Linked DNA regions of Homo sapiens: all the other regions are linked to region 1. The links are contacts of gene promoters, found by promoter capture Hi-C in blood cells and fetal thymus (Javierre and others, 2016). All regions are on one chromosome and are shown on one strand. Each heading gives the region's core, a stretch centred on a gene start or on the middle of the fragment in contact. The rest is flanking DNA. Distances are from core to core; before and after follow the strand shown. Region 1 holds the start of ATP6V1D (ATPase H+ transporting V1 subunit D). Region 2 overlaps SLC10A1 (solute carrier family 10 member 1). Region 3 has its middle 11 kb from the start of SRSF5. Region 4 overlaps MAX (MYC associated factor X). Region 5 overlaps SLC39A9 (solute carrier family 39 member 9). Region 6 overlaps ERH (ERH mRNA splicing and mitosis factor).

Region 1 (4,335 bases), core at 972-3,471:
AACAAAAAAGTTATTCTGACTGCTGTCAAAGATAAACCCAGCCAGACATTCGTTAAAGTAGTGAAAACAGATTTTATTCAGTAAACCACTGATAGTAGGGGAAAGGGCTGAGCTCAATTCTCATTTGTGCAGAGGTGACTGGCCATTTTAAAAAAGAGAGTAAGGGAGTGGCAGGGAGCCAGCCGCAAGAAGAGTCAGAGAAGAGAAACCTTAAAGTGTTGGTCAGTGTAAACGCCATACTACCTGGCAATTAGTAAGTTACTATTCTATCCTCTCACACAGACTGGGAGACAAAGCCCCTATCCCTCCTGATGATTACGTTTCAAAGAAATGGCTCTCAAAGATACTTGAAGGGACACTTCAGAGTTGGAAGAGATACATATTAACAATTGTAAGCCTGTTTCGTAAATGCTCTAAAAAGGGAACGAGAGGGGTCTATCAATTAGGTGTTGACTAGAACAAACAGTAAATTCTCCCCCTAGCTTTGAGCTTTTTCAGGCAGGCATTTTAATGGCGGGGGCGGCGGGGGGCGGCCTGGGGTCACCCTAGGGGCAGGCCTTACATTGCTAGAAGATAAACTAGTGTCGATGTCTTTCAGTGCAGAAGTTTTGACTGAGTCATCACGTCCTAGGAGTTCTGCAGTTGTCACTACCTCGGGATAGTCCTCATCTTTATTTCCCCACAACTAGCTTGCTGCCTACTTAGTGCAAACAGCTATTAGAAAGTCAACAGGTGAAGGTAAAAAATTTAAAAACTTCATTTCATTAAGAGCTATTTAGTCACCGGGCAGAAAGAAATCTGGGCTTCAGGTTTGAATATAACTTTTATTTTAAGCATCCTCAGATTCTCTCAAAGGACAGAATGAGGAAAAACAACAAAACACCCCCACAGAGATAGGACCACAATAAAAGGGTCTAAATGTCAGGGTCAAAACTGATTTTCTGCTTCCTCACTGAAAAGAAAAAGGGAAAGCCAGGCGCGGTGGCTCCCATCTATAATCTCAGCCGCCAGGGAGGCTGAGGCCGGAGGATCACTTGAGCCCAGGGGTTTGAGGCTGCTGTGAGCTCTGATCATACCACTGCACCCCAGCCTGGGAGACCCTGTCTCTTATTAAAACAAACAAACAACAAACTAAATAAAAATAAACAGGATGAGGAGGAGAAAGGGAGCAAGTTGTTAGGCACATTTGAGAAAACGTCAAAATTTTCCTTACAAACTAGCCAAACACCTACAGTGATATGCCATTTTCCTGACAAAGAATTCAGGCCCCAAAAGAAAGGCAGCCCACAACTGAGCGTATTCCCAAGCATGAGTTCTTTCAAGAAATATTTTTTTGTGGACCTTCTATGGATTAAGACACTCTTTCATCCTGGAGAGAGCCCACAGTCTAGTGGGAGAGAAAGACACATAAACAAATATCTACTTTACAGCGTGATGACCGGTATTAACACAGGTCTGAACAAGGTGCAGCGGTGAGAGAGCAAAAGCAGTGCCTCAGAAACACAGGGATATCCTCTCACAGCAGGTGACATTTGGCGGGATCTTGGAAAATGAGTAAGGGGATCCAAGATCGAATCCGAGGGCTATGCTAGGGCGATTCGATTCCATCCCCACTTTGGCTTAGGGACCTCTTCTATATCCTCAGTAAACTTCCCTTCTCAGAGCATTTATTAAAACCTCCTTGGCCTTTCCAGACGAATGTCTGGCTACGTAAACTGTGAGCTCTGTAGGGCAGAGGTGGCGACGGTTCAGTTATATAAATCCAGTGCCCGGCTCAATAAGGGTATGTGGAATGGATGAATCCATTAATGAATAAAGACAGCAGACCTCCACAAAAGCCCGCCGGCCGGGCGCCTTTTCCTACCGGCTGGGATCGCTTCGTCCAGCCTGATTCACTCAGGAGGAATGCGCGAAGAGGCCGTCAGGAAGCCTCGCCCTAGACTCAAGAAAAGAACCTGGGAAAAGCTCAGGATCCTCCCAGGAAACAAGGACCCTCACTGTGGCCCAGGGTCTGAAGGGACCGCGCTCCGGGTTCCTAAACCTGTGAAAGCGGCTTATCCCATTCCTTTACTTACATTCGCGAGGGAAAGATTTCAATTCGGTCTTTGCCCGACATTCTGACGATAACTTTTCGGCTCGGGTCCCCGGCCGGGCAACCGAGGCTGCAATAGCTCCAGAACTGGCCTCCACAGTGTCTTCCTCTACGGGAGTCAGCTGGTTGTGTCACTTGACCCCTCTTGTTGCTAAGAGGCAGCAGGGACACCCATTTTCACTTCCGCTTCCGGTTGTCACAGGCGACGAAGGGGGAGGACAGAACAGAGGCGTTGCCCGGATGTCGAGGCGCGCGCACCGCGGAACCACCCCTCAATTCCGGTTCGCCTCCCAACCCCTCCCCATCCAGCTTCCCTGCGGCTGCGCAATACGCGGCACGCGCCAGGCCAAAGACTAGGAGCGAAGCGTGCACGCCTTGTCTTTCTCCACCTTTCGTCTTTGGTCACAGCGCCATCTCATGGTTAGCTGAAACTTTGAAAGAGGATTCATTCTTCAGAGGCAAGGAATCGGAGTCCTATGTCTTTCTCGCGCCTTGAAGGTTACTTAGCTAAAGCTAAGATAGCGAGAAACAGTACTTTTCAGGTCCTTCCATGATCTACATTCGTCCTTGTTCTCGGAGGACCCAGACTCTATGGTTAATGATGAAGAGGGGCCTCTATTCGTTCAGCGCTTGCGCATGCGAGGAGGTTCCGCATGCGCGGTGGAGTGAGCGAAGCGCACGCTGAGGAGGATCGGCGGCCGGTGAGGGGGAAGCAAGTCTGGTCTCTGTGATTGAAGAAGTCGGCTCTGGGCTCCAGTGCGGGAATCACACACATACCTCAGGTGACTAATCCCAAGCTCGGTTTCTCCAGGAACTCACTTTGGTTTGTGTCCAGTGACATGGGTGTTCGAGAGCGGGTAGGCCCCGGGCTAATACCTCCCTTTCCCGTCCCTGCGCGGGAAGTGGCTGGACAGCACCGCCACCACCCGCGCTGTCGTGGGCCTCCTCGCCGGCTCCGTGTAGGTCATCCTGTGTTCCAGAGGCATCGTTGTTCGAGCAGAGGAATCTCGTGAAGGAAAGTGGGCCGAGTGGATTGTACAGCCTCTACAATATGCCGAAAGTGAGAATGCCATGACGATGGGGCGGTCTCAGGAGAACGCTGTGACACCGTAACTCTTAACCCCGGCTCAGGACGCTGAGCACTTTGCTTTTTCCAGGCTTGAGAATTCCATCTTTTCTTCCGCCCCAACAGCTCTACCAAAAATTTCCCCTGCGTCTCAGTGGAAACCAAACTGGCCTCTTACCTGAGAAACCTGTGGGACGGGCACCGTGTTGGAAAGAGCGGGGTCCGAGTAGTTTTTCATCTGATAATTGAATGAGTCACCCCTTGAACCAAAACTAAATGAGACTTGAGTTTATTACTGTTACTATCAGTTTGTCGTATTTTGGCGACAATGAGAATAGAACTGTGTTAAGCATATGTTAGGTTAACTATGTTAGTTAAGCATAACTAAAACCTAAGATAAGGATATATTTTCGGGTTAAATACACAGTCATGCTGAGGTCTCTTTATCCTCAAAACTTAGGCTTTTTAAATTTTTATTAAGCAAAAAACATGGTTTCTTCGAGAAAAAGTATAGCAGAGAAGTCTTTATTTCCCCTCAATTGAGTTGTTATTCAAGGAACAATCTCTGTCAATAGTTTGGGGGTGACTTGTACAGAACTTTGCTACCTATTCTTAGTTCATCTGGTGCCAAAAGATGTAGTTGTCTCATGCACAGTAATGTTTGTAGAGATTCGGTGATAACTTTCTTTTTCAACTATAATGATGAAATAAAAGCTTTACTTATGTAGCACTCCTATACCAAGAACTAGCATTCAGAGAGCATTCCTAATACGTGTTAGATCCAAATTAGAATTATCACGAGAGTTGTCCCCATCACATAATATATTTTGGAAAGGAATGTGAACTTCTATATCCATTATAGCAGTTTGACCATGCACTGTTTTGAGAAAGAAGTCCTACCTACCATTTGTCATGCAAAATAACTGACTATGCAGGGTATTTGAAATTAGCCTGGAGTTTGGTTGATATATTTTGAAAGGTGGCTGATACTTTTTACATCAGAACACATAAGAGTATTATAGCATGTTGTGATATTGAGGTTCTGTGGGTTAAAGACATTCTGGATTTGATGTCGGATTACTTGAGTTTAGCTCCTACGCTAGTACTTATTAAGCATTTGTTCTTAAGGAAGTATTATAATTTAGTATTTCTGTTCCACCTTTCCTGTTCATTGCTT
Region 2 (4,335 bases), core at 1,004-3,503, 2.4 Mb after region 1:
CTAAGGAAAGGTTTAGGACCTGCCTTTGTAGGGCATGGTTTAACCTTTGTTTTCTATGTTTATATTAGTTTCATCTTTATTCCTTGCTTTTTTTTTTTTTTTTTAGACAGGGTCTTGCTCTGTTGCTAGGTTGGATGGAGCGCGGTGGTGCTATCTCGGCTCACTGCAACCTCTGCTTCTGGGGTTCAAGTGATTCTCCTGCCTCAGCCTCCCGAGTAGCTGGGACTACAGGTGTGTGCCACCATGCCTGGCTAATTTTTGTATTTTTAGTAGAGATGGGGTTTCACCATTTTGGCCAGGATGGTCTCAATCACTTGACCTCATGATCTGCCCGACTCGGCCTCCCAAAGTGCTGGGATTACAGGTGTGAACTACTGCATCCGGCCATCTTTATTCCTTTCTAAGAATGGTTTGAGGCCAACCCTGTCTTCCTCAAAAGCTAAACAAATGTGTTCTTACATAACTTGTATGTAACCAAGTCTCCTAGCAGATGATGTTGGTTAGATAATAGAGAAAACAATTTGAACAGGTAGGTATATATGGATATAATAAGTAAAAATGATAGGTGGTAGCCTTGTCAAAAATCTGCGTTTTTAAGAGGATGTTAGTAACCCAAATCTGTGTTTCTCGTTTTGGTGTTGGGAGTACTTGTTAGTCCTGCACATTTGCCAAACTGATACCCGAAAACTATATTGTCTTGGTTTCATTTGTACCTGACCATACAAAATGATAAAAATCCCAAGTAACTAATAAGCATGATTGACTTTTTGTAATTGTTAATATTAGTTGTTAATCATTTACTTGATCCTTATTTACATATGATATGCAAAATGTTTAAATTTTATTAGAGACAATTTGAAATTTGTGAATTCTAGGTATTTGAACATTTTTCTTTGAATTGGGAAACGACTCATTTTGGCAGTAGTTTGCTGTACCCAGTTTTGGGGGCGCCTTGTGTTAAAACCAAATACCTACTGAACTTAAAAAAGAGATTATTAGTGAGGTAACATTGTGTTAATGTATGTGTTTGTTTCCTGGTTTTTCCTTGTCAAAAGTTTTCCTCCTCTACTAACATGATGCATTCGCCCAGTTTTTTCATTTCATTAGCTATTTTTTGAGTTTGTTTTGCCTGATTGCATCTTACTGTGTTCACTTTTGCATACTTGATGTCAAATTTGACTTTTCGGGAGCATCATCCCAATAATGTCAAAAGGGAAGGAATAGGATCTGAACTTTTTAGGTTAGAACTTCTGAAGTTTAATTCTACAGCACTTGTGAGCATTTATTTCTCTTTTGGGTCACAAAACTTGGAATGGGATTTGGGTATTTGAGTAATGGGTTAAACATATATATTGATTAGTTCAGGAATTGAGTGACTTTAAGATGCTTATCAGACACTTTTAGAGATCCCAGCAAGAGGCAGATTCGGTTTCTGGTTTCATAGAGTTTACAGTCACTGAACAAGTCTTTAAAATAAGTAGCAAATTCTAAGTTGGGGATAGGTGAGGCTTCTTGGGTAGACACCCTGTCTGTGTTCCCGGCCAAGACTTGATGATTCTGATAGATGTACTGGAAATGCTGGAGAAAGACTCAGGCAAGACTGGTGTTTTTGCTGCTCTCTCTAGTTTACCACACTGGCTTTCAGAATTGCTTTGGGACCAGAATCCAGGCCACCAGGGGAAGGGCTAGGCTGTGCAAGGGGAGCAGTCCTCCCCTTTGTAGGTGCCATTTCCCAGAGCTCCTGGAATTGTTTCTTCAGTTGTGGCAGCTGTGTAGATCATTTTTGTTTTATCTGTAAAGTTAAAAAGGGTTACAGGTGTAGAGAGAGAACAAGAGGAGTGAACAATGAAGCTTGTTTAATCTGGAAAGTACAAAAATACCAACTCAGCCCTAGAGTGTGCTAAGTATATATTTTCCATCTCTGTCGTCTCTCCCATGGTTTACTCTTTAAACTCACTTTCCCCTCAGTCTCCCTAATGGTAGTACTAGTAGTAAAAGTCCTAATGAATTAGACTATTGTGTCTTCATCATCACTTCACTTCTAACTTCGTTATACAGTAAAACAACAGGAGATGAGTTTATGTATGCAAGGTCTGTGTTGCATTCAGGGAATGAGGAGGCAGGCAGGAAAGATCTTCGAGAAAGTCTAACCAAGAGAGTTTCCAGTTCTTCCCTCCAACCCCCAATTGATCTACCTCTTCTTGTCCGTGGTGTAGGCGGTGATGCAAATTTGAAGATAGCTTTGATTCCTGCACCTTTCTATACAGATGGGAGAGTTCTCTATACAGAGTTGTTCTCCCATCAGGTGCAGGAATGAAAAGTATAAAAACTTGACAGATTCCTCCCCCCTGAGAATAGCTTCTTGGGGCCATTAGGTCCAAAGAAATACGTTGCTTTGATTTAGTGTTTCCACTGGGGTCTTCTGAGATACACTGTGAGGAAAGTTCTTTTCAAGTCTTGAGAGCTAAAGATCCATAGAGTATTGTCCTTTGAGGTCACTTCAGGTCTTTCTGGTACTAAAACCTCAAATCTGGGAATTTGGTTGGTCTAGAAACTTCTGTGCACTTTTTGTAAGAGGGCAGCAAATCTCTTGCGTTCCTCTCAGATAAGCATCAGAGTAGATTCTTTCTCACAACTCTACTGTAGCTTTGAACCAAAGCTTCTAAAATGGTTCTAGTGTATGGTCAGCCTGTACTTGTTTCGTGTTGGCTGCTTGGCAACCTAATTACATCTTAGCTAATTGCAAAGGGAGAGAGAATCGGCATTTGCTTGCTAGTATAATGTAACAAATTCCAATAGGGAAAGTTGTGTATTTCTCCTAGGGTGTAAATCACAGTCCCTAGGGTCTAGAAAGGTTTTGAAGGGGACTTCAATTCATGGACATGAAGGGACAGTTGAAGGATTTGGGTAGGTACTTAGGAAGAATATACTAATGTTGAGAGTTATAATGAAATGTGTTATAAAGTGGGTTTGAATGTCCTGTTTTTTTTTTTTTTTTTTTTTTTTTTTAAAATTGGTGTTAAAGTGCACTTTGAGGAAGGCACTCTGTTCTCTGGTCTGTCTTGAGGTTCAATTTTATTTTGAAAGGTAATACTCTGAGCATTTTAGAGAAGAGATGCTATGTTAACCCCATAGTGATCAGAGTAAAGTATAAATCATATTAAGTTTATTGTGGAGGTAGTTACTGTTTAACAACCGTATGCTTAAGTTTCCTTTACTGCGTAACTAGAGTTGAGGAATCTTTTTTTTTTTTCTTTATTCTGGGTTATATTAGGGTGCATTGCTTTCATATGTTTTTCCTCATACGGAGGTGCCAGTGGTGCTGTGGCTCTGATCTGGTTCCAGGAAATGAGAACCTAGTCCTGAGAAATGGAAACTTCCCCAACTCTTGCGAATAGAGGCCTTTCACACAACTAATAACCTCAGTTGTCCAAGGCAGTTTTGTCCTATGATGTCTCCCCACTGAGACAAAGCAGCCCAAATTGCTTCAGTTTTATGAGGTAAACTGCATCTGCAATTTCATTCTCCCAGCTAGAAGGAAGAAATGGAGTGCAGTTGATGGAAGTAGTCTTGGATCTTTAATGCTTCTTGGGTGCTTCTTGGGGCTACCTGGTTCTTAGTGACTTGATAAGAGTTAAAGCCCTATCCAAAAAGTCCCTGCTAGAAACTTGCTTGTTGGCAGGCTCAGGTCTAATATTGGAGCAGAACTTGAAGTGGGGATAATTTCAGTACTCACCCTTGGGAGTCTTGAATTTCTCATAGCACCAAAATATGGCAATGAGGAGAAGCCCTTCTCCAAGCTGGAAAATCATGTAGAGGAGGGGAAAGAAGAAAAGTGGTCCAATGACTTCAGGTGGAAAGGCCACATTGAGGATGGTGGAACAGAGTTGGACATTTTGGCATCCAGTCTCCATGCTGACAGTGCGTCTGCACCTGTGCCGGTGAAGAAAACCCCACATACACTCAGAGGGAACTGGAGGGAGCAACTTTGTCCCAGTGCTGCTACCAAAGAGTTTCGCAGCAGATGGAATCTAGACCCTGGACAGGGGTACTTTGCTATTGCTGCTGGTGTTTGGATACCTTTGGTGTCTGGATTTTTAACCCGTTCAATACCTTCATTCAATTTTTTTCAAGTCTAAAGTCTCTTGTCCAGTTAGTGCATCTGAACATATTGCCAGGAAAGTGTCTTGCCCAGATTTCAGGTTCCTAGCTTCTTATTCGTTTCCTGAAAGACTAGGACAAGAATGAAGCCCATGGGACAGTGGGACCTAAAATAATACCTATCTCCAGGCATGCAGTGGCTCACACCTGTAATCCTAGCACTTTGGAAGGCTG
Region 3 (4,335 bases), core at 956-3,455, 2.4 Mb after region 1:
CCCTGGCCAAGGCGCTCAACTCCACTCTGTTCACTCCTCCATTCCACCCCAGAGTTGACCTTGGCCCATTGGAAGAGCTCTTGGGCTTGAATCCTACACTGTCACTAATAGTTATTGAGCTTGGGAAAGAAACTTCTCAAAATATATTTCCTCTACCGTAAAACAGGATTAGCAGTACCTCTCTTAGGGCTGTTGAGGGGGTCAAATGAAAGAAGCCTATGGAACTCCTTGAACAGTACCTGGGCATGTATCAGCCCTCCAATTATTCCTGAATGTTACAATTACAGTAGGTAACCATTAGGAAATCTTCTTGTGCCTAATCATGCAAGGAAGATAGGCATGACCCAGGCAGATAAGACGGTTTCACATGTCTTTGCCAAAGCAGGGCCTAGTGCTGGAAGATAAAGCGGGTTTGGCCTGCTTTGGTGAAAGGTTGGTGGGTGCTTGGGAATTTAATCTAGGGCAGTCAGGGCCATTTTGAAATGGAGCTGCTTGTTTATTCAACATTTGGGATTTCACCTTTGTTGACAATAATACTGAGAAACATCATCCTCATCTATGAGGTGAGCTCTTTGGCAGCCATGTTTGTACCATGTGACCTCATCTTTGATTGGACCAGAATAGACACCTTACCTAAACGGGGCCAATCAGGTTTTCCTTTCCAGGGAACTTGGAATTGAGACTCACATGCTCATTCTGGGATCTACCTTTTTTTTTTTTTTTTTTTTTGTGAGACAGAGTCTTGCTCTTTGCCCAGGCTGGAGTGCAGTGGTGTGATCTCGGCTCACTGCAACCTCCGCCCCCCGAGGTTCAAGTAATTCTCCCACCTCAGCCTCCCGAGTAGCTGGGATTACAGGCGCCTGCCACCATGCCTGGCTAATTTTTGTATTTTTAGTAGAGACGGGGTTTCACCATGTTGGCCTGGCTGGTCTTGAACTCCTGACCTCAGGTGATCCTCCTGTCTTGGCCTCCCAAAATGTTGGGATTACAGGTGTGAGCCACTGCACCCGGCTGGGATCTACTTTTGAATGGAAGGGATATGAAAACTGGGTGATAGGGTGTGGTCATCTTCTCCCATATGGATTGAGAGGCAAGGAAAGCCAAGCTGCAGGAGGTGAGCAAATGACATAAAAAAACAGAGGAGGGAGGTGGAAATTGTATGTATCTGAGTTCTTGACAGTTCCCACTTCCTGTTTCAGACTCCTCCTCAGGCCTGAGCACATTCTGACCTTTGGATTTCATGAGACACTTCTGAATCCTTAACAATAAATCCATTTTTGATTGCTTACACTGGATCATGTTGTATGTTAAGCTATTTTGCTCTCAAGTTACAGAAGCCAACTTGAGCCATCTTAAGCAGAGAGAGGAAATTAGTGGAAGGTGCTGGGGGCATCTCATGAGATCTGGGAGGTTTAAACAACCCAATTTTAGGAGGTGCTGGTACAAGGGCAGCCCTGGGTACTTCAGCCACAGATGGGAAAGCCACCTTTCTTCTCACCTGCTGTCATTAAGATGCTTCACCTTTGGGCCTCTCAGTTCAAAACTGCAAATTCATAGGGTAGACAGAAACGCATTGTTCTATGATGAGACAATTAGTAATGAGTAGGGGTAGCTTTAGACAGCAGAGACATAGCTGCTTAAGAGAGTTTAACCATGAGAACAGCACATGACATTATCCAAGGACAGGGAGTGGCACTGATCAGCCAGTCCAAGTGACGTCCTGTACAAGCTGGTTTGCACACTTGTTTACAACTTATTATGAGCAGGAAACTGTGCTTCTCACTGAGAAGGGTGCAAAGATCTGTAAAACAGGGTCTCTAACATCAAAGAATTTATAATCTGTCTACAAATAATCACATTCCAAGGAAGTCTGTGATAACTGCTAGAGGAGATGTACAAGCATAAAGTGCTACAGAAATTTAGAGAAAGGCATACATTTGAGCAGTGGTGACTGTGGCCCAGATGTCAGACCAGGTCATGGTTGGCAAATGGCTTCCAGAACAAAACACTAAATATGCACTTAACATGCCTTGTAATAACAACCAAAAGGAGCATTTATTTAAAATTAAATGTAAAATGCAATAAAGCAGGAATGTGTTTTTGATGGACTAATCCATAGCATGTGAGCCACACTGACATATACAAATGTACCAGGTCAAGAGTGGACACAAACCAATTGTGCCAGGGTTCTGTCTGAATTCTAAGGCAAGTTAATCATATTCCTGTGATCCTTAGTCCCAGCCCTGATTATAAGCCTTTGGTCGGCTTATCTCCCTTGAATTCTCACCCCCATAGTATTTGTACGTGTGCTCTTCTGGGCTCATGGCCCTTTTCACGCTGGTCATTAGAAGGCTCCTTCCAAGGCAAACACATTCTTAATCTGTGCACAGAATACTCCCTCCACATCTTGAATTTTTAAAAAACAATTTATTTTTAATTTCTAAAATGTTAAAATATTTTCAGAGACTGGGTCTCGTCATGTTGCCCAGGCTAGTCTTGAAGTCCTGGACTCAAGTGATCCTCCTGCCTCAGCCCCCCAAGTAGCTAGGATTATAGGTATGAGCCATTGTGCCGAGCTCTCCCTTCAAATCTTTGCCTCAACAAAAACCTGGGTGACTTTATCTGTTTTCGTGGTATCAACTGTCACATATATGGGGATTTTTCTCAACTTAAAAAAAAAATGGCTCATATTTGTCTCCTATGCTTTAGACGTATGCATCCTACTGCCTGACGGAATCTTCTCCTAGGATGGCCCAGAAACTTCCAAATCAATGAGCCTGAGTGGACTCGTGGGCATTACCTGTTCATTCTCTATTCTCTGACCCCTCTATTGCACCCATGCTACATACCCATACTCCAGCCTGGAAGTGCAATTTTATTCTTTTTTAAATAAAAAAATTTTTTTCAGATGGGGTCTCACTCTATCACCCAGGCTGGAGTGCCGTGGTGCAATCTTGGTTCACTGCAACCTCTGCCTCCTGGGCTCAAGCGATCTTCCCACCTCAGCCTCCCCAGTAGCTGGGACTACAGGTGTGTGCCACCATGCCAGCCTAATTTTTCTGTAGTTTTTATAGAGATGGGGTTTCACCATGTTGCCCAGGCTGGTCTTGTACTCCTGGGCCCATGCAATCTGCCTGCCTTGGCCTCCCAAAGTGCTGGGATTACAGGCATGAGCCACTGTGCCCAGCTTGAAATTTTATTCTTATCTCTCTTTTATCTATTATGTCAAATTGATCACCAAGTTGTTATACTTGGTCCTCTCAATATTTCTCCAATTTGTCTCCACCCTTTGCTGCTGCCCCATCAATCCCACGATTGACTTAATGCACAACTATTTTTGCCTCACCGTCTGGGTTAGTTACCTATTGCTGTGTGACAAATTACCCCCCAATTTAACCAGCAAACATATTATCTCATGTGGTTTCTGGGGGTTAGGAATCTGGGAGCACCTTAGTGGGATGGTTCAGCATCAGGGTTGCTTGTGAGGTTACAGTCAAGCTGTCAGCTGGAGCCACCATCGTCTCAAGGCTCGACTGGGGCTGGAGACTCTGCTTCCAAGCTCACTCACATGGTGTGGGCAGGACTCTTTCCTTGCTAGCTGTTGGCTGGAGGCTTCAGTCAGCCTCTGCATAGGTTGTCTGAGTGTCATAACATGGCAGCTGGCTTCTCCTCAAGTGAGTAATGTATACATTTGTGTGTGTGTGTGTGTTTGCGAGAGAGAGAGAGAGAGAGAGAGAGAGAGAGAGAGAGAGAGAGGAAAGTCATAGTTTTTTAAAACCTAATTGCCAACGTTTTCACTTCAGCCATATTCTATTGGTTACATAGAATAAACTTAGTGCATGTGGGAGGGTGTGTGTGAAGACCAGCATGTGAGGATCCTTAGGGGTCACTTTGGGGTTTGGCCACCACAATGTCAATTCACTCTTTTGGTAAAACAATCACTTGATTTTCCTTTGGGAAACAACCCCTCCCACATTGCCAAGCTATAGTATGAGTGGGGCTGCCCCTCCTTCATTTCTGATGTAGGTCCCCATTTATAGCATAGGTCCTGACTGGCTAATGCTGATCAGCGCATCCGTTCTGCTGTGGACTGAATGCTGTGTCCCCTCAAAATTCACATGTTGAAATCCTAATCCACAATATGATGGTATTTGTAGGTGGGGCTTTTGAGATGTAAGTGGGGTTAGATGAGGTCATGAGTGTGGGGCCCTATGGGATTAATGCCCTTAAAAAAGAGGAAGAGGCTGGGCGTGGTGGCTCATACTAGGTGTAATTCCAGCACTTTGGGAGGCCAAGGCAGGAGGATTGCTTGAGCACAGGAGTTTGAGACCAGCC
Region 4 (4,335 bases), core at 702-3,201, 2.3 Mb before region 1:
TAATCCTTGTACTAGAGAAGATGTACAGACAAAAATCTATCAAGAGTTGTGAAAACGAAAGGACTTGAAATTCTCCTGTTATTTAATCCTAAAAGTCCCAGTCATTACAGAGGAAGAGGAGACTGGGAGCACCTGTAGTCATCTGAGTTACTTCCTGGTCTCTTAAACATAATACCTCACCTACAGCTCTGTTGAACTGGACATGTGGTTCCCATGACAACCATGGTTCTCCATAGCATATCTCTCTTTTTGGGGCAGATGCCTGGAGCACTTCTAAAGTTGTCCTAATCTTGTTAAGTCTGGATTCACTGTAAAATGAATGTTTACTGAACTATAGTGACATGAAATATGAAGCTGAGAGGACAGTCAAGTTTGGAACACCACATAACCTGAGGGTAGAGGTAGGTACTCTGTATCATACAACTTTAGCGCAAAATTATAGATGCCTTCTAACAGTAGCATGAAATAGTGCGACAGAATTGAACCTATTTAAGTATCTAGTCCTTTTGAACTTACTGTTGTTCCCTCTGATCATCTACATAAAGATAAGTTGGGCTGCGACTATACCTAAGGAGCTTAAAGGCCAAGAGACAATATTTGGCATGTGTCTGCGGCTCCTGTTTGCTATATACTACCTAAGGTGGTTTATTTACATGCAAATTAATTGCCCATCTTTGGTCTCCAGAGCAGCCCAAGATACTCCTGTCTACTAAATCACCCTGATTCTTGGCCCTCCTCCCAGCTAAGAGCTGTGCACCAGAATTACCCACAATCCCTCTTGTTGATACAAATAAAATTCTAATTGTCTGTTTTCTTTCTGGGAGAGCCCTGCAAATCTCAAACAGCTAGAATGAAGTTGCACTTGGTTTCACGTGGACCTGCACTAAAGGGGTGGAGCTAAGTATAATCTAACACCAAAATCATCCCCACAATGCACTACCCCCTCCCATTCACTGAGCTCTGAAAGGACTCAAATGGACAAGTCTCTCGGTTGGAGGATTGTAAGTGAACTTGGCTGTAGATCATGAGCAGAAATCTTGGCTTCTCATCTGGGGAGCCAGCCAAGTTTGAGAAGTTGGCTCAACAAGGAAAGGCAGCAGTCCACTGCCTGGTAGAAAGCCTGGGCTGGGGACTGTTGTTCTCAAAGTAGTGGATGGAATTTCTGTAGTGGTTCCAGGCCCAATTTAACTAGCAGAAGAGTGGAATCTTACACCAATCCCTGCTGCCATGTCCATCCCTGAGCTACTAGTGGAGTCAATTTTAAATCTCTCAGAGACAATGGCAAGGATGTATTTTTCTCTTCCCCAAGCTTGATTTGAAAGAACAAGTTAAAAACATGCAGAACTAACAAGCCTAATTCCAGGCAACTGTGAATTAAATGTTATCACTAATGTTTTGAAAGAGCACATGAAAAACAGAAAAACCTTTACACAAGGCTGAGAATTCTCTGTGGGAAACATTTCCAAACCACAGATCCACCCAGACCAATAACACTGCCCGCGCCTCATCCCCACCCCCATTGGAGGACTAGTTTGCAGGCTTTATCACTGCCTTGTTAACTGTCTTTGCTTGCTGGCAACCCTTTTTGAGAGGGCCAAGATTTCAGAGTTGAAGAAGAAAAACTGGGTGAAGACTCCCAGTGTAAGGCATCTAATATCCTCCCCCAAATGCAAAACTGGTTTTAAAAAACAAGCCCAAACAATTGTCTTGAACAAATAAAACTCTACTCAGATGAGCCTGTACTGAGAATGATGTTCAGTAATGAAAACAAATGGTACGGAAAACCCCCTTGTGGAATTAATTAGGCCCTATTCTAGGAGACCACAGAGGTATTCTTGGACTGTACAGCAGGCTCCCAAACATCTCCCCTACACATCCTATGGTTACAGTGGCTGGATGCTGCCCACTCTTCTAGTACGCTGGATTTGTACGTCTGGATGTCTGCCAGAAAACCCTTCCTCCAGGGCATCCCTAACAGAAATACTAAGGGGCTATGCAGTGGTCCACAGATGCTCAACAGAAACTCCCGCACCAAATCACTTCCAGCTTTGACATCTCTGCCAAAGTTTTTATTCAGCCTCTCAGTTATATTTCTACCCAACTTTCCACACTGGTAGACAGAATAAAAATCTTCACCTACAATTTGTCCATCTTTGACACTACCAAGCACGTGTATCTTAAGTGTTGTTAGATGTTGAAGACAAACATTATTTTGTTAGCCAAGAAGTTGCTATGTTGGCAAGAAGTCATCTAGGCTAAGGAGGTCTGTTCAAAATTGAGGGAAATCTCTTAAAATTATTTCCTTCCAACTTACTGCAGAGAGACTGCATCTTTGTTCAAGGCATCACATCAGTCAGTAATCTTATTTCCTCCAAGTTCTAGGCAAATAGCACGGGGAAATAAATGCTTCATTATTCCAGGATGCACAAGGTTCTCCAGAACAATGCCATGTCTTACAGGCTACCTGACAGCTAACCCCACCTATAAGGGGAACCATCTCAATTCTAATACAGAAAATTCTCAGCATATAGGGAATTAGTTGCCCACTCAATATTTACTACCTTTACAAAATGTGAAGGTTGTATTTTAGAGGGAAGCTTGTGTTGCTTATGATTCTTATCAAGCTATTCTTATTAGAGACTAAGGACACGAGAATACACAGACCCAAAAATCTCATCCGAAAAGATCTATTTCTTACTTCTGATAGATAAGAACAAGATAGGATAAAGCTCAATTTCTAAGCAACTTAAAATATTCATTTTAATCAACCCAAAAATTATAACATAAAATAATAGGCAGGTAGGATGGGATAAACTCACCAAGCTCCCTAAGAGAAAGACATGGATTTCAATTTTCCAATACCTGTCCTGCTTGTAGCTGATTGCCTGGTATACATTTCCAACATTATCTAATGTATGTATTTGTTTTCAAACTTTTTTCTTTTGGTGCCTAAAATAACTGGCAAATGCTATAATCCAAACAGGGCCTCATACTATAGCCATTTCAGAGAAGGATGCCTTGGTCAGGAAATTTTAATTAAAAACCAAGCTGAATTCTTTGACCAACTATTTCACCGTTACTGGCATCTTGGAAAAATTCTTTTAGACATAAGAACAACTTTTACCCTAACACAGGCACATTTAGGAACTAACTCTGGCATTTGTTATCACTGTAAGCATCACTGTCAACACTCTAAGCAGAGAAAAAGTACATGCATTGTGCAGCACTTTTGCCATGCAACTGACTGCAGGTAAAACAGACAGTAGTTTCCTGAGTGAATTCCAATCTCGGAGGCTACCAAGCTCGTTCTCTTCTGAATATTCCTAAAGAAGCAAAGAGCTCTGAGAAGTTAAAAATATTTCATGCCAGAAAGGTCCAGAAGTGGAATTGCACAAATCTGTTTTCAAACCCCTCACAAGTATACTGCAACTGCAACTCAGTCAGGTGCCATCAAGGATGGTCACTGGAAAAAAAATTGCATTTCCTGACCAACACACTAACCCATACATTTCCTGTATACTTACACTCTTTCCTAAAGAAATTTCCCAAACAGAAATAAAGCAAAAGGAAGCCCTTGCAATATAATATACCTGTCCCACAAATTTATCTTTAAAATGCAACCTCTTCCCTCCAAAATATAATAAAAATAACATCAGTGGGATTTTGCGATGTACTGAATTTAGTAGTAAGAATACTCTTTGGGGTTACTTCCTTTAACAAAGCTTACTGGCCATTGGAGAAGCTGTTTTCCGTTTGTACTGAAGCAATAGAAAAAAATATTTGCCAAATCAGTTTCACTTTCTGTTAGAGTTAGCCTAACTTCCTAACTCTCTTCTCAGTATCTTACATTTCTCATGTAGTAAGGCCTATATATTGTAGTGACATTATAAAACATACATGAATGTTTTTATATTAGGATCCACAGAACCCTTTTCAAATAACTTTTTCAACATCTTCTGTAGTCCTGAATACCTAAGTATTTGGTTGTTCACAGTCCACATCTTTTTTTAAACCTTTTTTCTAAGGCAAAACTTAAGAATAGCTCCCTCTTAAATTTTAAAAAATATATTTATTATCCATATTAAATATTGAGAAGTAAGCAGATGCATTCACAGAGGGGAAAAAATGGAATCCTTTTTACCCTACACAGTCACAATAGTTGTTTGATATACTATAAAATTTGTTTATAACATATCTGCTTTTTCTCTCCATGCTGTTGTAATTACATTGTGCAGAGTAATATTTAGAAATATCAACAAATAGATGTGTTAAATTAAAAACAAAGTGTCAAACCAACTTCCTTTGCCTACCCCCAAAATCAAAAGGAAAAATCCT
Region 5 (4,335 bases), core at 1,184-3,683, 2.0 Mb after region 1:
GTACATATACATGGTAGCCTGTGTGCCAAATCCAGCCTGCAGACTGTTCCATTAGCAGAAGTTTATTATTGTTGTTCTTTACCAGTATTTCCTAGAGGCAAAGGTTGGGTCGGGCTGAGTAGCAGCTGTTAGGCACAGTCCTCCTTGCCCTTGAAGCCTGTTTCACTTATTTGGGTTACCTGCCTGCCCAGTACTTTGTGAACCTGCTATGTTTCCTTTGACATAACCATATTTTCTTATAACTATATTAGAATTGAATTGACATTAGTAGGGCTGACATGTGTGAGATTTGGGTTGGTTTGTGTATTTTTAAACATATTGAAGTAACATTTATGAATAATCATAATTAATTCTGATAAGCAACCAGTAAAACTTTTTATTTCTATAAAATGCCTTTAACTTTACCAATTCCAGTATTTTTTCAAACTACCTTGAATGATTATTGCAATATGCGGATATATACTATTTCCTTTTTCACTAGAAGGAAATGTTTACAGGAGTGGTGTTAATAACTGGGTCATTAATACAGATAATTAGTATGTCATGTCATTTGTGGCTTTCTTAAATTGACGGTCAGATGGTCTTTTCCAGCTGTAGGTCTTAAAATGCTAAAATCAGCATTCATAATATCTGTTTATTATTAGAGTAGATGCAATGCATTTTGAGCTATTAGAATAAAAAATGAAAGTTATATATAACTTAAAGACATCCTAGAATTCAACTAGGATTTCTATCTCCTAGGAACTAAACATATTTTCTAGGTAAATTATGCCATTATTATGGACCAATGTTGTAATGAAACTAGTGAGATGGTAAATTTGTAAAAATAAATTTCATTCACGGGGGACTGGAAAGCACCATTTCTTTCCTTAGAAAATAATTCCCCAAACTCCTACACTGGATAAATGACTTGCCTTTTTAAGGAAGTCTGGCTTTCTTAGAGGCTAGTGTTACTGTTTTACAGTTCACTTTCGTTTACATCAGGGGTGTCCAATCTTTTGGCTTCCCTGGGCCACATCAGAAGAAGAATTATCTCAAGCCACACATAAAATACACTAACACTAAGATAGGTGATGAGCTAAAAAAAAAAAATGCAAAAAAAAACTCATAATGTTTTAAGAAAGTTTATGAATTTGTGTAAGGCTTCATTCAAAGTGCTCCTGGGTTGCATGCGGCCCACGAGCCATGAGTTGGACAAGCTTGATTTACATGAAAAGATATGCTTTTTATTCATGTTTTTAATCTTGCTGCTGCTTTCTCATTCAATACTTTTTCTAAAAATATCTCAGAACAGGAATAAAAGTCAGATGATCAATTATGGCAAGATTAGTATTTAAAAACGAGTTAAAATTAGGTAGTCTGAAATTGCAGTAGTGGTGGGGTCTACCTGCCAGATGTGCCCACCAAGAGGTTTATGTGACATTGATTTCTCTGTCAGTTTCTCCTCACCCCAAAACTACCTTTCTTGATACTTTTGTGGCCTTCTTCCTTGCCCTTTGACCTGGCAACTGTACTTTCATGCCTTAAAAATTTATAAAACAAAGGAAAAAAAATCCGATTCTCAAATGCAATTATAAGTAACTATGATAATCAGGATGTAAATTTTTTCAGTATACAGGAAAGAGAAACACTTTTAACTTTTAAAGGAGGCCAGCCAGGTGCTAAGTGGCTCACGCCTGTAATCCCAGCACTTTGGGAGGCTGAGGTGGGCGGATTACCTGAGGTCAGGAGTTCGAGACCAGCCTGGCCAACATGGCGAAACCCCATCTCTACTAAAAATACAAAAATTAGCTGGGCGTGGTGGCATGTGCCTGTAATCCCAGCTACTCAGGAGGCTGAGACAGGAGAATTGCTTGAACCCAGGAGGCGGAGGTTGCAGTGAGCCGAGTCCCACCATTGCACTCCAGCCTGGGGAACAAGAGCAAAACTTTGTCTCAGAAAAAAATAAAAATAAATAAATAAAAATAAATAAATAAAGGAGGCCAAAGCATGCTTTACACAAAGGAAGCCCTGTTTGGTAAGGGAGTGAGACCCGTTGGTTTATAGTTAACACTGTCTTATGTTTTTTCGATTGAATTGCTAATGAGTAGTTTTCTTTGGCTCTAAATAACAATGTTACATAAGTAGGTTGAGAGCCTATATTACCTAGTATAAACTCAGTGCTGCTGCAGTTGATAAATGGAGCTATGATACAAAAACAGATGGCTCAAGTGGGATTTCAGATTGATTATCTGAGGGTTGTTACTCACCTGAGTATGTCTCCTCTTTGTCACAGAGCTGGTAACAGAGAGCAAGCTGTTTTTGGCTCAGAGCTCTACAGCAATATTCCTCAAACTGCCTGGTAAAGGATCAGTTTTTGTTTTTAATTTTTATTTCAATCCATACCAATACACTTATAAAAATGAAATAGTAGGAAAATGAAGTGAAAAAAAGACATAGAAAATACAAGCCCAAATGTATTGTTAAATTCAACAGATAAAAAATTACTACTATAATTGTAATAATCATATTGCTCTAAAAATTTCTGAAGGCTTTATCTCAGTTGCCATACTTTTCTTATTGCAGACCAGTTTGAGTTATAATGCCACATTTTTCATGTATTAAAACAGCAAAGCAGGCCAGGCGTGGTGGCTCACGCCTGTAATCCCAGCACTTTGGGAGGCCGAGGCAGGCGAATCATCTGAGGTCGGGAGTTCGAGACCACCCTGACCAACACGGAGAAACCCTGTGTCTACTGAAAATACAAAATTATTTGGGCGTGGTGGCACGTGCCTGTAATCCCAGCTACTTGGGGGGCTGAGGCAGGAGAATCGCTTGAACCTGGGAGGCGGAGGTTGCAGTGAACCAACATTGCGCCATTGCACTCCAGCCTGGGCAGCAAGAGCAAAACTCCCTCTCAAAAAAACAAAAAACAAACAAACAAAAACAGCAAAACTGGATGTAGTGGCACACACTGGTTAGTCCCAGCTACTCCAAATGCTGATGTGGGAGGATCACTTGAGCCCAGGAGTTCAGGGTTGCAGTGAGCTATGAGTGTGCCTGTGAATAGCCACTGGCAACATAAGGAGACCTACTCCCTAAAATAACCAACAGCATAAATCCATAAGTTGGCAGATGAAAGTAGTGCTATTCTTAGGATGATTTTAAAGATGAATATGATTAATAATGCACTGATTTCAAAAGGGACTGTCTGAGACAGTATCATTCAAAGTCAATGTTACTACTTGAACAAGCTATTAAAATCCAAATCTCTTCTGTTAAATGACCTTCTAGGATTGTTGTGAGGTTGAAATAATATAAGCACAGGCTTAACACTATGTCTAGAACATAATAAAAACTTTCAAAAATATTGAGGCAGATTCTCAATACTGATTAGAAAAACTTGTAAAGATTTTCATTTTTATAACTTTGTTCTAATTTATAATTGTTAAACCTTTTATTTGGAAACAGACTTAATAATGGGAAGCTCCTCCCCCTCCTCCCCTTCGCAGTCATGGAAACTTCTCGGCAATTTGTTTGGAATCCAAAGGTCTTGTTGTGGGGTTTGGTTTGCATTACTATTTACCATTCTATTTGGAGAGGCCAGGGCTTTTCCTCTACCCTCCCTGCTTTATACTATTTTTCTTAGTATTTAACTCTCTTTTCTTCATTATACTTACTCTCATTTTAAGCTTTGTTTTGTTCTTTCGTGTTTTAAAGTTTTGTGTCTGTATTAGTCCATTCTTACACTGCTAATAAAGACATTTCTGAGACTGGGTAATTTATAAACGAAAGAGGTTTGATTGACTCACAATTCAGCATAGCTGGGGAGGCCTAAGGAAACTTACAATCATGGCAGAAGAGGAGGCAAACACATCCTTCTTCATGGGGCGGCAGGATGGAGAAGTGCTGAGCAAAAGGGGGAAAGCCCCTTATAAAACCATCAGATCTCGTGAGAACTCACTGTCACAAGAACAGCAAGAACTCACTATCACAAGAACAGCATGACCTCCCACCAGGTCCCTCGCATGGGAACTACAACTCAAGATGAGATTTGGGTGGGGACACAACCAAACCATATCAGTGTCTGATTATAATAACTGACTCATTCATAATAAGTATCTTTAGGGGTTTGAGTTACCCGCAAATCAAAGGTTTATTGTGTCTGAAGAACAGATTTATTCAGTATGCTTCTGCCTCTACAATAGGTTCTCTTTGAAGTAGATTTAACAATGTTACATTTTTAAGGACTTTTATATTGTCTGGTACATTGCTCTTACCCTCTTATGGTAATACAAGAGATTTTATACCTGTTTGGAATTTCATTTGTAAATTCTAAGATTTGAGCCGGGCATG
Region 6 (4,335 bases), core at 890-3,389, 2.0 Mb after region 1:
TCTGAATTAACTAAAAAACCTTTAAAAAACATGTACTGGCAACAAAGATTTCTTGCTAATTTCCTTCCCCCTGTAAAGTATTAAGGAAATCTTAAACCTATATTTTAGGATTTGCTTTTTAAAATAAATAATGCTAGAGGCCTATGGAGAAGAATTATCAGAAGATACAGTAAGCTCCAAAATATCTCTAATCAGAACGAAAAGGAGTACACAGACTAGCATTAGCAGTAAAACTCCAATGGGACTGTGAGTAGTATCTAGTAAGATGTCACAGAGTACTGGGTGTCGCTTTAAATTCTTATCTGAATTAACTCATTTTTACAACCCTGTGAGTAGGTACAATTATCCTCACTTCCCACCACCCCCACCACCGACCCCTGCTTTTTTTTGAGACAGAATCTCACTCTGTAACTCAGTCTGGAGTGCAGTGGTGCCATCTTGGCTCACTGCAACCTCTGCCACCTGGGTTCACATGATTCTCCTGCCTCAGCCTCCTGAGTAGGTAAGACTATAGGTGTGTGCCACCACGTCCAGCTAATGTTTTGTATTTTTAGTAGAGACCAGGTTTCACTATGTTGGCCAGGTTGGTCTTGAACTCCTGACCCTCAAGTGATCCAGCCGCCTCGGCCGCCCAAAGTGCTGGGATTACAGGCGTGAGCCACCGCACCTGGCCTCCTTTTTCATAAATGAGAAACCAAGGCTTTAAAAAGTGAAGCAAGTTATTAGCTAGGTAATGCTGGACTGGAGATAGATTTTAAATACTCCTGACTCCAGAGTCCTCACTGTTAATCACTAAGTTAGAAACCTAAACTACAATTTTTGGCAAGGGAAATAAATTCCAAAGTAGGAATGCTTTATACAATTAACATCATATTCTTCCTCTGAACAGTAAGGTCACAATCTGGTTTATTAAAAATGTACAAGATTCCCATTTTTAAAAATGCTTAACCAAATTTAAAAATTCTAAAATTTAATTTTTTCTGAAAACTCTTTGTCCATGCTTCCTAATTAAATAAGCTCTAAGCTAGTCTACTGCAAAATGTAGCAGAAGAGACTATAACATTTATATTAACACTGGAAAATAACTTAAAAAGGAACAAAATTTCTCACAATTATCATATCTGGGTGGGACAGGCTTTGTTTATACCATTCCCCCCAACAAAAATCACTCTGGTTTGTGAACATTAAGGAATCCATCAACTTGCATGCAATTTTCCAACTCATCAAATAGTAGGCCAGGTGCCAGTGGCTCATGCCTGTAATCCCAGCACTTTGGGAGGCTGAGGCAGGCGGGCCACAATGTCAAGAGATCAAGACCATCCTGACCAACATTGTGAAACCCCGTCTCCACCAAAAAAAAAAAATACAAAAATTAGCTGGGCGTGGTGGCGCGCACCTGTAGTCCCAGCTACTCGGGAGGCTGAGGCAGGAGAATCGCTTGAACCCTGGCGACAGTGCAAGACTCTATCTCCAAAAGAAAAAAAAAAAAAAAGCAATAATGCCTTCTTTATGGAAAGCTGTGTGTCGATGGCTGTTAACTGGCACTTGAAAATGAGACAATTAAATGTTAAATACTTTAATAAAATGCCTAGTCATTGGCACAGATGAATCTTTTAACCTATTGTTATGGTCAATGAATGTAGGTTTATATAAGAACAGAAGCTGTGGGTCTGGGCAGTGAAATCAGAAATGTCTTCAGTGATAACTTCTCTTACTGATCAGGAATACCTCTTGTCATTATAATAACTGACAGTTTAAATGTTCTTTATGTCTCTAAGCAAACAAGAAAATACTGCATAATCAAAAGGGCATTATTTTCATCTTACAAAAAGCTTATTTAAAAAACATACAGATCAGAAAACTGGAAAAATCTGACTCTGACTTTAAGTATACGAAATACAAATTTTCATGCCTACATTTTATTATTAATGCATGGTCAGTTTGCTCTGGGTTTAGTCATGTTACAAAGTAGAATCTTATTTATTCCATTTCCACCTACGCTGTTTAAAAAGAATTAATTTAAAAAAGTCCTAGGTCACTGCCATGTAAATTTAATAGAAACTATGAGCACACAACCATCTACAAACCAAAAACGGACCCAGTCTCTGGTCTGAGGAGTAACGGCCCAAATCACAGGATGTGCTGTGGCAGTGGGTTACCTCTTTGGAAACAATACCTTATTTCTCCTGAATATTCAAAGAACAAAAAGGACATAACCAAAGTCACCTGGGGAAAATAGTTTTAAATCCTAAATTTGATTCTGAAAGTTTTTCAGAGGCCAAAAAATTTTCAACATTAGAAACAAACAAATAGTTACAGGTTTTCAAGCTATGATAATTTACGGTTTTTAACACTCTGAAACTACTAAAAAACCATAAATTATCATTAACCTCTCTTCTATATTTCTGGAAATACTGTAGGTGGGAAGAATTATCTAGGTAATAATTAAAGCTTTCCCCCTATGTTGCTTTAATATAGCAAATATTGTATTAAAAATCAGTTTAGTATGCTAGATATGGTTTCTAGTTTACATTTTAAAGTCTAATGCAGCCGGGCACAGTTGCTCATGCCTGTAATATCACTCCTTGGGGAGGCTGAGGAAGGAGGATCACTTGAGCCCAGGAGTTTGAGACCAGCCTGGGTAATATAGCAAGACCCTGTCTCTAAAATTTTTTTTTTATAAAGTCTAGTACAAAGTTAGAAAAGTTATGTTATGTCATTAATGACATACTTGTATATCATTAACATGTCACTTGTAACTGTTTTACTCTGCTCAATTTTCATATTGTTGAAAAAACCTCAACACCTTTTAAATCTCCCTTGAAATTTATAATTTATCTCACACGTAGACATTAAAATTCATATCATTCTACTCCTGGCAAATTTAAGAACATGCTTGTAATTAAAAATAAAACTCTATCCTGACTTCTTCAATCTAGTTGAAAAGGGAGTTGCTGCATATCTAATAATGCTGTGCTCAGCAAGCACTTGATCCTCACAAGGAGTCTTATGAACTAGATTTGTCTGAATTTTACAAATTAGCAAACTAAAGTTTAGCAATACAAAGCTGCCTTGTCAAAGGGAGCTAGCAAATGGTAGACCCAGGATTCAAACCCAGCTATGTCTAATTCTGCCACTCCAGCTAGCTCTTAACCACAGCCTCCCAAGACAAGTAAAACATGATCCTTTGCTTCAAGTTTACTTCCCACTTACTGGGAGTAAGTATGACATCCCAAAAGCGTCAGGATTACATCCTGAATGTTTCAGTAAGGTTCTTTTATAAAACCATAAAGACAACCATTAATTTTTAATCAATGCAGAATATAGCTCTGTAATATAAATAAGGGAAATAGAAAATTATCAATAATTTTAGAAAGCTATTCCTCAAATAACAACACAAGTGACGTGCATTTATATAACCAATATTTACTCAGCACTAATTATGTACCAGAGATGCAGCAGTGAACAAACACAAAGCAACTTCTTCTTAAATTCTATCAATTAATATACACATTATTGGTAATTTCATATCCAGTGGATGATTCTGTCAACACTTAGGCCTCCCAATTCCATGAAGTCTTTTCCTCTAATGATCTCATCTCCTACCCTCTCTTGGCCAGATCCCTAGACCTTGTCATTTCCAACTACTTCAATTTCCTAATTTCAAGCATGTCATTCTCTGATCACCACTTCCTAACACTCTAATGTGAGCAATCCTTGATCCAGTGGGACCTACAATGAACTGATCTACCTCTGTTTCCAGCACCTCCTCCTACACCCCCAATTAAAGCTCATGGTCATTCAGTCGTTGCTGTTGTCCTCATATATGCCCTCAACCTTTAGCAAAATCTTTACTCTCTACCTACTCCTCACCTGTAACCATCCAGGTGAGAGAGACTAGGAAAAAAATCCCATGATCACAATGACTGATTTCACTTTAAATCACTATCAGATAGGTACTTTGGAGGACACTTAATGCATCCCTGAATTAATTGCAGTTCCCTAATTCTTTCACCTTCCTAGCTTATTTCTTACTTTTCCACAAACCTGTAACACCTGTTTCAAATGATGTCCTTGCTCCTTATCTTTCTGAGATAACTGAAGCATACAGAAGATAATTCCCCCCAGCTCCCAAATTTGCCTGTCCTCCCTTTTTTATGATTGAACTGTCCAAGAGCCAATTTGAGCTATCAGTTTCTCCTTCTCTGGTACATCATCCCATCAGCCTGCAAACTTACCATTACTTTTCCCACTTAAAAAAAAGCAATTTCTTTCTCCAGCTACAACCCCATTTTTCTGTTCTTTCAAGCAAAATTCTTTAAATAAAAAAAAGGA

What was found. Contacts are between HindIII fragments. The CHiCAGO score rates a contact against its expected background, and 5 or more counts as called.
Region 2: a fragment that was not itself captured here is called in contact with the fragment with the promoter of ATP6V1D in region 1 in 1 of 17 cell types (naive B cells); the score reaches 6.0 in naive B cells.
Region 3: a contact is called between a fragment that was not itself captured here and the fragment with the promoter of ATP6V1D in region 1, in 1 of 17 cell types (neutrophils). The highest score is 14.1, in neutrophils.
Region 4: a contact is called between a fragment that was not itself captured here and the fragment with the promoter of ATP6V1D in region 1, in 2 of 17 cell types (fetal thymus and non-activated CD4 T cells). The highest score is 10.5, in fetal thymus.
Region 5: a fragment that was not itself captured here is called in contact with the fragment with the promoter of ATP6V1D in region 1 in 1 of 17 cell types (neutrophils); the score reaches 16.5 in neutrophils.
Region 6: a fragment that was not itself captured here is called in contact with the fragment with the promoter of ATP6V1D in region 1 in 1 of 17 cell types (neutrophils); the score reaches 8.1 in neutrophils.

What each region holds. Positions count from the first base shown.
Region 1 is chr14:67,357,583-67,361,917 of GRCh38, forward strand. It overlaps ATP6V1D (ATPase H+ transporting V1 subunit D), which reads right to left and starts at 2,222. Exons shown (of 9, transcript NM_015994.4): 1 at 2,076-2,222. The coding sequence starts at 2,116. It overlaps EIF2S1 (eukaryotic translation initiation factor 2 subunit alpha), which reads left to right and starts at 2,746. Exons shown (of 8, transcript NM_004094.5): 1 at 2,746-2,874. It also overlaps a transcript of GPHN not described here. RefSeq lists enhancers at 1,333-2,119, 1,962-2,181, 2,202-3,001. The HindIII fragment of the contact is 15,355 bases long and covers 1-3,870 here.
Region 2 is chr14:69,774,597-69,778,931 of GRCh38, forward strand. SLC10A1 (solute carrier family 10 member 1) reads right to left here. Exons shown (of 5, transcript NM_003049.4): 4 at 3,737-3,933; 5 at 820-1,792. The coding sequence ends at 1,686. Among named protein-coding and RNA genes, the nearest start is that of SRSF5, 9.6 kb to the left of the region's middle. The HindIII fragment of the contact is 808 bases long and covers 1,850-2,657 here.
Region 3 is chr14:69,754,280-69,758,614 of GRCh38, forward strand. No RefSeq gene overlaps it. Among named protein-coding and RNA genes, the nearest start is that of SRSF5, 11 kb to the right of the region's middle. The HindIII fragment of the contact is 5,135 bases long and covers 1-4,335 here.
Region 4 is chr14:65,095,030-65,099,364 of GRCh38, forward strand. The region is part of intron 2 of MAX (MYC associated factor X); the gene reads right to left. Among named protein-coding and RNA genes, the nearest start is that of MAX, 5.3 kb to the right of the region's middle. The HindIII fragment of the contact is 1,288 bases long and covers 1,308-2,595 here.
Region 5 is chr14:69,401,146-69,405,480 of GRCh38, forward strand. All of the region lies in intron 1 of SLC39A9 (solute carrier family 39 member 9), which reads left to right. Among named protein-coding and RNA genes, the nearest start is that of SLC39A9, 4.6 kb to the left of the region's middle. The HindIII fragment of the contact is 2,472 bases long and covers 1,198-3,669 here.
Region 6 is chr14:69,381,318-69,385,652 of GRCh38, forward strand. The region is part of intron 3 of ERH (ERH mRNA splicing and mitosis factor); the gene reads right to left. It also overlaps a transcript of GALNT16 not described here. Among named protein-coding and RNA genes, the nearest start is that of ERH, 15 kb to the right of the region's middle. The HindIII fragment of the contact is 619 bases long and covers 1,831-2,449 here.